Regions from separate parts of the Homo sapiens genome. Here region 2 is linked to region 1. Evidence: promoter capture Hi-C in 16 types of primary human blood cells and fetal thymus (Javierre and others, 2016). All regions are on one chromosome and are shown on one strand. The core of a region is centred on a gene start or on the middle of the fragment in contact, and the rest is flanking DNA. Distances in the headings are between cores, read along the strand shown.

Region 1 (4,488 bases), core at 860-3,359:
CAATAAATACTAAAAAGATTTGGACACACGCCATATTATAAATATAAATCAAATACACTAGTTCAGCATGGTGATTGATGAGAACTGCCAAGGGTGGTATTTACAAATAATGTTCATATTTCTTTGAATATCCACTTACTGTGGACAAATTATACAGCTTAAGCTATTGTTAGTTGGGTATGGTGACTTGTGTCTGTAATCCCAGACTTTCTGGAGGCCAGGAGTTCAAGATCAGCATGGGCAATATAGTGAGATCCCCATCTCTTAAAAAAACACAATGAAATTTAAAAAGCTCTTGTATGTGCAAAATCATGTGAAAAATTCTCACAACTAGGAAAGAAGGAAATAGAATTTGAAAACTTCCTTGGAAGATGTGCATTTTCTGATCCAAATGTGAACCAATATTACTTCGTCATTAATAAGTATGCAAGGTATGGTAAAGATGCTAAGGCTTCAAAATTAGGGTATTTATATAAAACAATGTGTAATTGCGCTACCTTCAAACAAGAAAACATTATTACTTAATAAATGCTGATGCTGATTGTTAACTGTATGTTTTACAATGAGATGACCTTTAAATGGCACAAAAAATAACAGGTGATCCACAGATTTAGAATTTGAAAATAAAAAACTGGCAGGCTCTAAAAGTTGCTGTCCTCTGTACCTAAAGATGTCACCAGTGGCGAGTCAGAATGCAATGCGTACGTCACTATCACTGCTCTAACATATACTATTGCTATAATGGACTCCTGGTCAAAAAAGTGGATAAAAATGTGGGCATCAATTTCTTCTGAAACAACTACAAAATACACTGTCCATTGTTGCTTAACTTAGTGAAAAGCACTCCCTATTTAACAAACACATTCTCAATGTTGCCAGTGTGAACTGTAACTGTAAAACCTAAAACTTGGGTCAGTACACAGACCAACAAGAAATAAAAATGAACAGAAAGAAATGCCCGAATCTGAATTCTGAAGGATGTTCGCATCTGAAATGGTGGCAATAAATACTGTGAAAAAAAGACGATTCCATACACAGGGTTGAGATGGGTAAACAGTTGTTGGATGAAGATATATATTTCTTCCTCATTCTATACCCATGTGTCAAAGCATCAAAACAATTTATTTGCGACAGTTTATGTTGTGTCTCGAACTTTACATCTAAGTTTATCATGAGGGGGAAAAAAACCTGTTTGGCTTGACTCACCGTGAATCACAGCCAGGAGGTCATCTTGTTGTGTATCAGCAACTATGTTTTCGCTACAGCTATGTGACCTGAAGTGGCAGCAGCAGAGGCACCAAAATAGAAGGGGCAGGAGCCTTCTCCTGACTTCTTGGCCGCAAATGGGCTTTCCAGCCCATTCGGGCAACTGAGCAAGAGCCAACCGCAGAGGAGAGAAAGAACCAACCCGACAGCTCCGCGGAGAAAGGCTGCAGGCCCACCCCACCTTCCTTGCCCTCCCGGGGAGGCCGGGTAAGCAAGAACATAAAAGAGGACAGGCTTAAGAAACAGCCTGGAGAAAACACAGCATGACAGGGGTCAAAACTAGCCCCATGGAGGGCAAAACCCGGCCGTGACCGTGAAGCACAGATTTCGGGACGGTCTGGACGCGCAAGAGGCTCTCTACCCTGGGGCTCCGGGAGCGGCTCCGGCGCGAACGCGCGCGGGCCCCCAGCCTTCAAGCTCCTCCGGCCGCCTGGGACCTGACCCTGCTCCCACCTCACCTGTCCGATGCCCGCTGGCCCGGCCCGAGCCTTCAGCTCCCTGCCCGCACCCCGGCCCACCCTTCCATCCCTTGCTCTCCCCGCATGTCTCTCGGGACCACTGGCCGAGTCAGCGTGGGCAGGGGGCCGCTGCCCCGCAGCCCCAGGCCCGGCCCCGGCACTCACTTTCTGAATCCTCTTCAGCGCCATGGGTCAGGGATGGCGGTGGGGACACCGGCCGGCAGGGGTCGGCTGCGGGGCTCAGGGGCGTGGGTCGTCGCGGGTTGGGCTCGCTGGCAGCTAGGCTGGCTCCGCGCGGTGGGTCCCCGGTTAGCCGCTCCCTGGCTCGCTCCGGGCGCCGGTCCCTGCTCCGTGTGCGCCCGAGCGCGAGTGTGCGCGAGTGTGCGGGCGGGGACGCCGGCGAGACTCTTTTGTTTCCGCTTTTGCTTCTGGGAAGGAGCCTGCGCCCTCCCCGCCGCGCCCCGCCCCGCCTGGCACACTGGGAAGTGTAGTTCCAGCCCTGTCCTCGGCTGCAGGCCCCCGGACGCTGCCAGGTAACTTACTGCTGACCTCAGCCAGGCAGCTTAAGGTGAGAGCTGCCGGGGGCTGGAATTAGCCTCTACAGTCTCATTTAGAGCAAATTGCTGAACCTGGGGCTGCGCATCTGTAAAATGGGGATAACAAATGAGCTCCTAACGCACATAAAGGAATTTCTAAATCATCAGTTAGTAATTCCTTATCCAATAGGTGCCACAGCTGGTTTTATTATTTTTACCTTTAAAGATTTCACTGTCTTTTCTCAAATATATGGATTGTCTCACTCACCCTGCACACATGCACAAACTCATATCAGACCCCCTACTTACCTCCTTGGTTCTTATTGCAGAGGAAAAAGGTGTCTCTTCTGTCCAATGTGCAAATCTTCCTTGTCTGAGTGCATTGTCTGCTCGTAGGTATGCCCCTCCCATAAATTACCCACTTCGAACACCGAGTTCTGGGCTCTCACTCCCATCATTGGTTCCTTCCCTTCCGTTGACAGTCCCTGACCAATAGTCAACTCACGCTCCCCACTCTCCAATTCCTATGCACTTGTGTACCCATTAAAACTTGGCTTCTTGGCCAAGATGAGATTTGGGTGGGGACACAGCCAAACCATATCACTCAGGGATATAAAGATGGCAACAAATAGACACTGTGGACTACTAGAGAGGGGACCGAGGGAGCAAAGGTTGAAAAACTGTTGGGTACTATTGTCAGTACCTGGGTGATAAAATCATTCATACCACAAATGTCAGCATCACACAGCATACCCAGGTAGCAAACTTGCATATGTGGCCTCTAAATCTAAAATAAAAGTTGAAAAACAAAAACAAACAAACAAAAACAGAATCTTGAGCCCCACTCCAGACATGCTACATCACACTTTGCAGTTTAATAAGACTCCTAGGTGATTCAGATGAACATTAGGGTTTGAGAAGCACTATGCTGGAAGGCATAAGAGGAGATCCTAAAAATGCAGATTTCCTTTAAAGGATTTAATTTAGCAGTAAGTTTTGGGTGAAGCTCTGGAGTCTAAACTTTAGAACAAACTTCCCAGGAAGTTAGGATGCAGGTATCTGAGGACACTTTTGAGAATCTCCACCTTGAGCAAATCTTCAAATCCTTCTAAGCCTCAATTTCCTCACCCATAACTAATGCAATAAATGTTGTATTTGTTTAAAGGGAATAGAGCTGAAACTTTTGGTGCCCTTCTAACTCAAAGGTCTATGATTTGCACAAAAAATGGTGATTTTTTTCTCTTCTTTATAAATAGAAAGAAACCTAAAAAGTAAGCTTACAAGATTATTTTTGTCTTTCCTAGGGCAGTTTACCTCCCAACAAAAGAGAAATTAACACTTATTAAAAAAATCTACGTTGGTATCTTGCAATAATAGTTTACACTTTAAGATTGCTTTAAATGGGCTGGGCACAGTGGCTCACGCGTGTAATTCCAGCACTTTTGGAGGCCAAGGCAGGTGGATCACCTGAGGTCAGAAGTTCGAGACCAGCCTGGTCAACATGGTGAAACTCCTTCTCTACCAAAAATTCAAAAATTAGCCAGGCGTGTTGGCACATGTCTGTAATCCTAGCTACTTGGGAGGCTGAGGCAGGAAAATCGCTAGAACCTGGGAGGCAGCAGTTTTACTGAGCCGAGATGGAGCCATTGCACTCCCGCCTGGGTGACAGAGTGAGACTCCATCTCAAAAAAAAAAAATTGCTTTAAGCTTTTCAAAACATTTCACACACATTTTTGCAACATGCAAATACATGTGCAACATATAGTAGTTCAGTGTGTTATTTAATCTCCTACTCTTTCTCCCAGGATGTAGTTTCAAAACATAGTTTGTGATCAACTGCATAACTAATTCAAAAATGTTACTTAATGCTTACTATATGCCAGGCACTGAAGACACATGATAAAGAAAATAGACAAGATCCCTACTCACAAGCAGAACATCAAAATCCTATGGGGTGGGGAGGAGGGTACAAGACTTGTTAAAAATGCAGATTTCTAGGCATCAGGCCACACTGTCAATAAATAATCCTTGCCCTCTGAATTATCTCTGTTTGGGATATTATACTGCACTAGGTGGTAAAATATATGCAAAAGAAAGATTATATTTGGTCTTACCTTCCATAAACTTAAAATCTTCATGGTAGGAAGATAAATGCATAAAACAAATAAGTAGCAATGCAAGATATTCATTCATTCAGTCAGTCAGTCAGTCATGCAGACAACAGCAAC
Region 2 (4,125 bases), core at 129-2,628, 2.0 Mb after region 1:
GATCTTATGCTGAAAATTTCCTTCCATTTTTGTGTGTTTAAGAATGTCTTTAGTTAGCCTTCTTTTTTATTTTTATTTATTTTTTGAGACAGTCTTGCTCTGTCACCCAGGCTGGAGTGCAGTGGCACGATCTTGGCTCACTGCAACCTCCACCTCCCAGGCTCATGCCATTCTCCCGCCTCAGCCTCCCGAGTAGCTGGGACTACAGGTGCCCGCCACCACGCCTGGCTAATTTTTGTATTTCTAGTGGAGACGGGGGATTTCACTGTGTTAGCCAGGATGGTCTTGATCTCCTGACCTCGTGATCTGCCCACCTCGGCCTTCCAAAGTGCTGGGATTATAGGTGTGAGCCACTGCATCCAGCCTAGTTAGTCTTCATTTTTGAAAGCTGTTTGCTGGAAACAGAAATCAAGGTTGACTTTTTTTTATTCTTACAGTACTTGAAAGATGTTACTCTACTGTCTTGCTTGCATTGTTCCAAGAAGAAATTTCCCGTAATCCTTATCTTTGTTTCTATGTAACATGTGCCCCAACACCCCTTATTACTTTAGAATTTTTTATCAATGGTTTTGAGTTATGCAATTATGGTATAACTTGATGTCATTTTCTTAATATTTCTTGTGTTTGAGATTTGTGAAGCTTCTTGAATATATGAATTTATATTTTTCATCACATTTCAAATTTTTTGGTCTTTATTACTTGTTTTCTTGTCCTCTCCCCTTGCCTCTCTGAGACTCCACTTTCAAGTATATTATTAGGCTGTTAGAAGTTGTCTCACAGCTCACCATTGATTTGTTCATGTTACTTTATTTTCATTTTTTAATGTTGTGATTGATTTTGGGTAGTTTCTCTAGAGCTGTGTTTCACTTTCATTCTGCAATGTGTAACATACTATATTAATACCATCTAATTCCATCTATCACATTGTAGTGTTCACCTCTACAAGTTTGATTTAGGTCTTTATTACAAGCTTTGTGTCTTTGATTAACTTTTTTAACAGCTTTTATGACAGCAGTAAAGTGTAAATTTAGCGGTTTTCTGTATAGAATTGTACAACCTTCACCATAACCGAAGTGTAGAACATTTTATTTATCCCTTTAAAAGAAACACTATATCCATTTGCAGTCCCTCCCCATACTCTCTCAACCTCTCATTCCCACCAATCCCCAGCCCTGGACAAGCACTATATAAATTTACTTTCTGTTGCTATAGATTTGTCAAATCTAGACATTTCACATAAATGAAATAATATATTATGTGGTCTTTTGTAATTAGCTTCTTTCACTTAGTATATTTTCAAGGTTCATATTTTAGCATGTAGTAACCATTATTTAGCATGTAATAAAGTTCTCTTTACTACTGATTAATACTTCATTGAATGAAAGTATGCATTTTCACTCACCAGCTAATGGGCCTTTGGGTTGTTTTTACCTTTCAGCTTTTGTGAATAATGCTGCTATAGAGGTTTGTGTACTTTTGTGTCCCCATGTTTTTATTTGTCTTGGATATATAACTAGGAATGAAATTGTGACTCATATGGTAACCCTACGTTCAAAGCCTATGCACCAGTTTACATTTCCATCAACATGAGAATTCCACTTTCTTTACATCCTTAGCACCACTTACCTTTTTCATTATAGTTCTGATATCTTTTTGAAGATATGGGATATAGTTACAATAACTGTTTTAATGTCCTTGCCTGTTGATTCTAACATTACTTCAGTTCTGATCAGCAATTGATTTTTCTCCTCATTATGTGTTTTTTTTTTTCTTTTTGCAAGCTTGGTAATTTTTCTTTGTATGACATATGTAAATTGCACCTTTGGTGAACATTTTTCTATTTCTATAAATACTGCTGAAGTTTGGTCTTGTCATCTGTCATGGTTTGTTAAGTTTGATCCATTTGGGTCTTACTTTTAAGAGTTAGATGGCACTACAGCACTGATCAGCTAGGACTAATTACTGCCTACTAAATAATTAGTAAACAACTATCAAATCAAGACTTTTTTGTGTGTACTCTGTCCAGTGTCCTACGGACTATGAAGTTTTCCAGCCTGGTTAGTGGAAATAGAGACTATTTCTGACCCTCTGTAATGTCCATATATATATATTTATATATATATATATATGTATTTTTTTTTTTTTGTGAGACGGAGTCTCGCACTGTCACCAGGGCTGTAGTGCTGTGGCGCAATTTCGGCTAACTGCAACCTCAGCCTCCCTGGTTCAAGCAATTCTCCTGCCTCAGCCTCCCGAATAGCTGGGATTACAAGCGCCCACCACCACGCCCAACTAATTTTTTTTGTACTTTTAGTAGAGACGGGGGTTTCACCATGTTGGCCAGGCTGGTCTCAAACTCCTGACCTCGTAATTCACCTGCCTCAGACTCACAAAGTGCTGGGATTACAGACGTGAGCCACCGCGACCGGCCATGTCCTGGTATCTTTAAAAATCTTTTAGCTAGTTTCTTGAGACACATACTGCTCAGTACTCAGCTGAATGAATACCAAGTTCTCTCTCAGCAGTTATCTTTCTCCTGTACTCTGCAAAGAACATTACCTACCTTGGTCTCCCCAGAATATCTGTTCTATTTTGCCAACGCAGGCAATCGGCTGGGCTCTGCTTGAGTTCACTCTCCTGCATCGCATCTATAAAATACTAATATCTTTGAAAGCAGCTCGCTTTTTGAGCGCAGATCATTTGCTTCCTGTATCTCCCGGATCACTATTCTTTACTGATTCCCAGCGTCTTAGAAACAGCCCCACTGTTTTTCGGGGTTTTGTTTTTTTTTTTCTACAGCAGTAGTGAATATTTTAAATAAAGTGTCAATGCTGTAAGTTTCCCTTAAAACGCAAACTCAAGGAAATGCTTTCCCTTTTTCGAGTAGAGAAAGAACTTCCACAGGCGCGCGGTCGAGCTCAAGCCCACTTATAGTCTCTGGCACCGCGTAAGGACTAGCGCGCAGGCGCAGAGCCCGTGCGCGCCTAGCCATAACCGCGCTTGCGCCAAGCAGCGAGGCCCGCCAACGAGCGAATCCGCGCCTGCCAATTAGAGCGCACAATGGTCCTTGATGCCCGCCCACTAACCTCTGCAGCCAATCGCCTGCCCCGGCGCGAAGTCGACTGTGACTTCAAAGTAATCTTAGGGATTGTGGGAAGGCAGCTGAACTCGGCGCCTGGAAAGATGGAGGCAGCGGAGACAGAGGCGGAAGCTGCAGCCCTAGAGTAAGTGTTTGCGGCTAAGTGGCAGCTGGGGCCGGGCCTGGGAGGACCTTGTGGGCCCCTATGTGTAATGATTGGTGCCCTCGACCCTGTACAGCTGTTGAGGTTCGACCCTGCCGTGAAGTGATCCTCACCGCAGTCCCGTCTTAGGTTCCTGAGGTGTCTGTTGCCTGCTCCAGGAGTACAGCCTTTGGGGGACCGTTCGCCGCTCCCCACATCCACATAATCCACAGGATGTGCTCTAGGAGACGGTTTCACTTCTGTCTTCTTGTCCCAACACGACACATTCCCAGTCACTTCTCATCCCCATCCCTGCCCCTTCGTAGATTGCTCCAGTCCCTAATAATGAAAAACCCTAGAGTAGACCGAGGCATCCAGCCCTCTGCCCTGAGTCCTTTCTCAGCTATTCCAAGACTCTGCCCCAAGGCTGGTGCTCAGCGCCAGGAGGGATCCCAAGGCCCAGCATTCTTCCCCTTCCTTGCATATCTCCCTGGCTTCCTTCACATCTTGACTCAAATGATTTCTCTTCAGTGAGACACTCCCTATTTAAAATTTCAGCTCTTTTCTCAAACTCCTTATCCACTAGCCCTGCTGATTTTCCTTTTGGCACGTATTACCACCGTGTGCCCTCCATGCACGCCATTCCTGGTTGCAGGCTGTGGACCCTTCAGGCCCTTGTGTAAACTCTGGTCAAGGCAAGACTCTCAATACTATATATACTGATATACACATCCACATTTGTTTGTGTACACACACGAACTGTAGAACTAGCACCACAAGAAACTGCAATTTCCTGTGTTTCCTTGCCCCTCCAGGGTCCTGGCTGAGGTGGCAGGCATCTTGGAACCTGTAGGCCTGCAGGAGGAGGCAGAACTGCCAGCCAAGATCCTGGTTGAGTTTGTGG

The links. The method cuts DNA at HindIII sites, captures the fragments that hold promoters and counts their contacts. A CHiCAGO score of 5 or more calls a contact.
Region 2: a fragment that was not itself captured here is called in contact with the fragment with the promoter of UBE2D1 in region 1 in 1 of 17 cell types (non-activated CD4 T cells); the score reaches 9.8 in non-activated CD4 T cells.

What each region holds. Positions count from the first base shown.
Region 1 is chr10:58,332,627-58,337,114 of GRCh38, reverse strand. UBE2D1 (ubiquitin conjugating enzyme E2 D1) reads right to left here and starts at 2,109. Exons shown (of 7, transcript NM_003338.5): 1 at 1,890-2,109. The coding sequence starts at 1,913. RefSeq lists a silencer at 1,725-2,244 and enhancers at 2,052-2,346, 1,945-2,445. The HindIII fragment of the contact is 6,404 bases long and covers 1-3,538 here.
Region 2 is chr10:56,360,295-56,364,419 of GRCh38, reverse strand. It overlaps LOC124902546 (a long non-coding RNA gene), which reads right to left and starts at 2,961. Exons shown (of 2, transcript XR_007062372.1): 1 at 2,564-2,961; 2 at 1-395. ZWINT (ZW10 interacting kinetochore protein) reads left to right here and starts at 3,161. Exons shown (of 9, transcript NM_007057.4): 1 at 3,161-3,224; 2 at 4,037-4,125. The coding sequence starts at 3,184. RefSeq lists a silencer at 2,894-3,103 and enhancers at 3,194-3,363, 2,712-3,451, 4,077-4,125. The HindIII fragment of the contact is 811 bases long and covers 973-1,783 here.